Linked DNA regions of Homo sapiens: region 2 is linked to region 1. The links are contacts of gene promoters, found by promoter capture Hi-C in human tissues and cell types (Jung and others, 2019). All regions are on one chromosome and are shown on one strand. Each heading gives the region's core, a stretch centred on a gene start or on the middle of the fragment in contact. The rest is flanking DNA. Distances are from core to core; before and after follow the strand shown.

What was found. Contacts are between HindIII fragments. The study calls those that stand out against the background at their distance.
Region 2: a contact is called between a fragment that was not itself captured here and the fragment with the promoter of DAAM2 in region 1, in 1 of the 25 tissues and cell types used here (H1 embryonic stem cells).

The regions. Positions count from the first base shown.
Region 1 is chr6:39,790,876-39,793,811 of GRCh38, reverse strand. DAAM2 (dishevelled associated activator of morphogenesis 2) reads right to left here and starts at 1,436. Exons shown (of 25, transcript NM_001201427.2): 1 at 1,347-1,436. The HindIII fragment of the contact is 10,904 bases long and covers 1-2,936 here.
Region 2 is chr6:40,308,633-40,311,568 of GRCh38, reverse strand. No RefSeq gene overlaps it. Among named protein-coding and RNA genes, the nearest start is that of LINC00951, 46 kb to the left of the region's middle. RefSeq lists an enhancer at 2,411-2,936. The HindIII fragment of the contact is 5,396 bases long and covers 1-2,936 here.

The sequences.
Region 1 (2,936 bases), core at 187-2,686:
AACCCAGCTATTGACAGGCAGTGCCTGGCACTGTGCTACTCAGGGATGATGGATCGATACAGCCTCACTGCTGCTTTTTTCCCCTACTCTCCGTGGAGCACACTTTCCGCCCTAGGCCCTAGGGAAAATCCATCCCCCGCTTCAGCTGGCTTTGCAAAGAAACTCAGGAAACTAACACCAAACTCAGAAGGGGGAAAACACAAGACTTTGAACTTTTTAAAGATGGGAAGCTGCTTTCATTCCCACGTGGGCATCAAGGGAAAACCTATGGGGACTCTTTTCCGGAGAGGTGTGATTTTCCTCTAACCCTCCGAGAAACGTTCCAAATCCACTCCAAAACTGTGGAGAAGTGGCCGAGGCAGAGAGAGAAGAGTTAAATCAAGCCCAGATCTCAGCAATCTGTGTTCAATTTTGATAAAAATCTCCCTCTCCCCCACCGCCCCCCTTCCTCCACCCCACAGCTCAGACACGTCTCTTTATGTTAGGAGCTTGCATCTTGTTTGGGGCACCACACGCGGCACTCCTGGAGAACCTGGCACGTACCTCACCGTGGCCATGTGGCAGAACCAACCATCCCACTCCCAAGCTACGGCTGGACACAGGGCCACAGCGTCCTGGCCATCACCACCACCTCCCCCTCTTCCTTCTCATCCTCTTCACAAAATTACCTGCCGCCAGACCAAGTCCCTCATTCCCCGGTTAAGTCAGAGTCCCGACGCCTGGTAAAGTCAGGGCATGAGGTTGGTTTGCGACCGCAGGTGCTGAGAGCCCCAGAGTCCGGGGACCCCTTTCCTGAGATGCTCCTTCCCCCGCCCAGGGTCCCACTGCCACTGAGAACAAGAACCTTACGGCTGCCCTGCCCACTGGCCAGAGGCCAGGCCTGCAAGTGGGAGCTGGGGGCTTGTGAAGACTTCAGCCCAGCCAAGTGAAGGTTCAAGCCGAACCCGGAAAAGCCACCACCAAAAAGTTGTCAGTTTTGCGGGGTATCTTCTGTGTTTGTCCACTTGTGACAACCAGGGGTCAGGTTTCAAAGCCGCAAAAAACATTTTTAAAAAGTTTTCCAAAGACATTTCCTATGTCCAGATGTGCCAGTACAGACACACGCAATCACACTCATACACACACACAACTCACACACACACAGGCCCTGGGAGCCCACTCCGGGGTCGGCGGCTCCTGCAAACACTTTGGAGAAACAAAACCGCCAGCCTGCGGAGCTGCTGCCTCCCCAAGCCCCGCGGGGCATGCTAAAGAAAGCAGAGGGAGAGAAGTGTGGGAGCCCAGCGGAGAGGGCTCCCCGCGGCCCGGGCCCCAAGACGGGGAGCGCCAGGGCCGGCCGCACTTACTCCGAGGACCCCAGGGCGCCCGCGCTCCCGCAGCCCGAGGTACGGCGCCGCCGCCCGCGCTCCGCTCGCTGCTGCGTGCTCCGCGCTATCCCCGGGAAGCCGCGGCTGCCGCCCCTCCAGGCCCGGCCTCGCGCCCGTCCGCCCGCCCCGCTCTGACGTCAGGCGTCTTGGAGCGGGATATTTATGGCAAGGTTACTCTGAATTTTCCCTAGGTAGACTTCTGATTGCAGTTTCTTGGGATTTGTAATTTTCACACTTTCAGACCGAACGCAGGCGGGGGGAGAGCGCCACCGGCAGGGCGAGGCGTACAATGAGGGTAGCTGTTCCCCACTTTGGCAGGGAGCGTTCTCAGGGCCCCTTCTGTTTTGGAAACATGGAAGGGTCAAAGAGGCAAAAGTGGCCACCTGGGCAGCGGGTTTCTCCCCGGCTCCTCCTCTGGGCTACGGGCAAATGGCCTGGTCTGAGGCCGGCTCGGAGGTGAAGGTCCCGGTGCCAAGGAATCCCCTGTCCCTCCCCAAAGTGTCCCTGCACTGGACAGTGTGTCCCAAGGGGTGCTGGGCAAGACAGGAGCGAAATCAGGCACAACAGAACAGCTAATTAGGAGTCCTGGTCCACGCCCTAACAACTTTTCCATTTCTTTTTTGGGAGTGTATATATATTTTTTTAAGTTTATTTTTATTAAATTATGTTCCACACTCCCTGCCTCTGTATAGCTTTTCCAATTCAGTGCCAGTCAATTCATCTTACTTCATTGCTTGTATGCATAGTTTGAGCAGTTTACAATAGCTCTTATTCATACTTTTAAAATTTCCTTTTAGTTTTTTTTTTTCTTTTTTTTTTAAATGTGATTGTGGTCTGTCTCCTTGACTGAACTAGAGATTGCTTTGGTCAAGAGCAATTGTCCTCTCTGGGATTGGCAACACCCTCACGGGGAGTATTTGATCTTCTCTGTTTCCTATTTTCCCCAGCTCCCTCTGCAAGCAAATGGTGCCCCCACTGGGTGATGACCTGTATACAGTTTTCTGGGTGTTCAGTGGTTGTTCTGTGTTAGTGGTTGTCTGTTTCTCCACCTCACCAAAGGGGCTTAGGGAAATGGCTTGGTTTAAGGGCCACCCTTCCAGAGAAAAAAAGAGAATGTAATGCATGATCTTCCAGAGGAAAAAAAAAAAAAAAAGAGAATGTAATGTGTTATCCTTCATGGTTCCCAAGGATTGGAGAATGAAATGAACTTAAAATGATACACGTGAGATGCAAAATACTTATATGGTTAGACAACATAAGTGTTTAGGTATTCATCTCACCATGAATGGGAGGGGGCACGGATAATTGCAAATCATCATTAAAACACAACTATAGTGAACTTTCCATTAGCCCAAACTGGTAGAGGCGGGGTTGTGTTTTAACCACAGTTACAGTGCAGCAGGGACTCAAGGACTTGGAATGTGTTTACCTCTTTGGCAGCAGCTGGTTAGAGCTGATTGCCAGAAGGAGCTGTCTTAGGGCTGGGCCTCTCGGTAGAGGCCACGCTGTTTTGACCCAAGCCACCGAGGGCCCTGCAGCAGGGAGCTGCTGTTTGGTCACTGTGGGATT
Region 2 (2,936 bases), core at 166-2,665, 520 kb before region 1:
TCCTGGCACCAACATTAGGGCAGGCGGAGCCCCTCCCTGGGGTGGGAGGGGGTCTGAAGAGAGAAAGGAGGTAGGGCCTGACCAGGAATCCTTGTTGAAATGAGGGCGGTGTCCTTGGAGCAGAGTGATTTGCCACACAGCTCTGGCCTGGAGGTCCTGCCAGGCTTAGAGGCAATACCAAGTCCAAACACTATAAAATTATCTGCGATGTTGTTTGAGCAGTAAAAGTGGTGAAGAGACCTGAGGCTACTTAGATACAGAACAACTGTTTTCTCCTTAATGAGCCACCATACACAGCGTTTAATTAAAACTGCAGGAGCATCCTGAGAACTTGGACCGAGGAGCGTGGAAGTTATGGTGGCAGTCATCGTGTGTCAGGGCTGGGGTGACTCCCTGAGACTGGACACAGTCACATCCTCCTCCCTGAACTCCTTTCATGTAGATCCCATGTCTACTACCATGTCTCCTGGTTCCCGGTGAACTGTCTTAATCCTTTTCCCTCTCGCCATCATTCAAGAGCACCCGGTGAATAGTCACACTCCACTAGCTTCAAATATTTACGGGCAACATAGAAAAATTACTTTAGTTTCCTGAGCCTCAGCTTCCCCATCTGGAAAGTGAGGATAAGGATTCCTTCTTCATGGAGCTGTTGCGGAGATCAAATAAGATACACGCAGGAGTGGCCTGACTTTCACCCACTTACACCCCTGGCATTCCTGACCAGAAGGATTGAAACCAATCTTGATGCACTGATCTTGATTCCTGACCAGAAGGATTGAAATCGATCTTGATCCGCTGATCTTGACTCCTGACCAGGAGGATTGAAACAAATCTTGATCCACTGATCTTGACTCCTGACCAGGAGGATTGAAACCAATCTGGATCCACTGATCTTGATTCCTGACCAGAAGGATTGAAACCAATCTTGATGCACTGATCTTGATTCCTGACCAGAAGGATTGAAATCGATCTTGATCCGCTGATCTTGACTCCTGACCAGGAGAATTGAAACAAATCTTGATCCACTGATCTTGATTCCTGACCAGGAGGATTGAAACCGATCTTGATCCACTGATCTTAATTCCTGACCAGGAGGATTGAAACCGATTTTGCATTTGTTATCCAAGCCATGTCCTGTGAGATGCTCCTTGGATAAGTGGTTCCAAATTCAGATAGGTTTGGGAAATGTTGTGCCCTGCATATACCCCTCCCCACTGGGGGCTGCCATGCACATGGTCATTTTAAAGAGTCTAAGAAGTCCTGATAGAAAAAATTCTGCTTTGCTGAACCCAGTGTTTTCTGAAATTTCTCACCATGGAAACTTTATTTTATGTGTATTTTTCTTTATTTGTTTCACCCATTAGCATCATTGGGACCATCTCTGGAAAACACAGGGGTGGCATAAATCACATGTGCAAAGTTGTGCCATCTCTCTGAACTCATTTCTCATCTAAAAATGAGGATAATCAATGCCCACCTTGCAGGGTGCCATGAAGATCAGAGGTAGTGAACACAAAACACCCAGCCCAGGGCCTGGCAATCAGTGGGAGGGCAACATGCATGGACACTGGGATGAGGCAGGGAGGACGCAGATGCAAGGAATGACACCATGGGATGCAGATGCTAAAGGCGAGGACCAAGGGCAGGGTCTTGACCACCAAGGGCAAGACCACCACAGGCCGGTGGGGGCCAAACCAGCAGATTTGAGACCTGGAGTCTGATATAGTTTGGATGTGTGTCCCCTCCAAATCTCATGTTGAAAAGTGATGGGACCTAGTGGGAGGTGTTTGGGTCATAGGGGAGGATCCATTATGAATGGCTTGGTGTCATCCTTGCAGTAATGAATGAGTTCCCACTTTATTAGTTCACTCCAAGAGCTGGTTGTCAAAAGGAGGCTGGCACCTCCTCCCCTCTGTCTTGCTCCCTCTCTCTCCATGTGACACACCTGCTCCTCCTTTGCCTTCTGCCATGAGTAAAAGCTTCCTGAGACCTCACCAGAAGCTGAGCAGATGCCTGTGCCATTCTTGTACAGCCTGCAGAACCATGAGCTAAATAAATCTCCTTTATTTATAAATTACCAAGCTTCAGGTGTTCCTTTAGTAATGCAAAACAGACTAACACAGGGTCCTTACATCTCCCAGACGAGCATGGGGATTGTTCCCAGTATTACAGGCAAACTCAGTCTGCGGGAGAGGGATCTGTGGCCTTGCCAGGAGCTGGGAGGACTGCTGGGCACAGGGAGAGATTGAGGAGTCATTTACCAACCCCTTCACTTCACAAATATTTATTGAACACTTGCTAACTGTGAGGTAATCCTAGCTACACAGGATACATCAGTGAAAAAAAACACAGCTCCTGCTTTCCTGGAGCTTACACGAACAACAAATAAGCAAACTAATAATATTTTAGATGATAAGTGCTACAAAAAATAAGGCAGGGTTAAGGAGAGTGGTGGTGCTATTTTACACAGGGTGGTCAGGGAAAAGCCCTTTTGAGGAGGTGATGTGAGCAGAAAGTGGCAAGAGGTAAGTGATTACACTCATGACCCATCATCATTATCATCACATCATCACCATTATCATCACATCATCACCATCACCATCATCATCAAACCTCCTCCATCATCCCTTGGAGTAAGTGCCTCTCAGGACAGGCTTTCCCAGGGTGTAGTTCCAACAATGACCACGAGGTGGAGGAGTGACTCTAACCCCGTCCAGGGGCTGGGCGTTGGTTGACTATCTCAAGCCCCCAGCCCTAGATCCTGTCAAGGTTGAGAGTCGTCTCAGGCCATCTGCAGCCATAGGAATCCCATGTAGTTGGGTTGCCAGCTTGACTGTGTGCGGGGGCTTTGGCTCTTTGCCACCAGTGAGGTGCGAGGAAGGGGAGGGAGAGCCACAAGGAACATCTGGAGAAGCCGAGCCAGGGAAGGGCACACA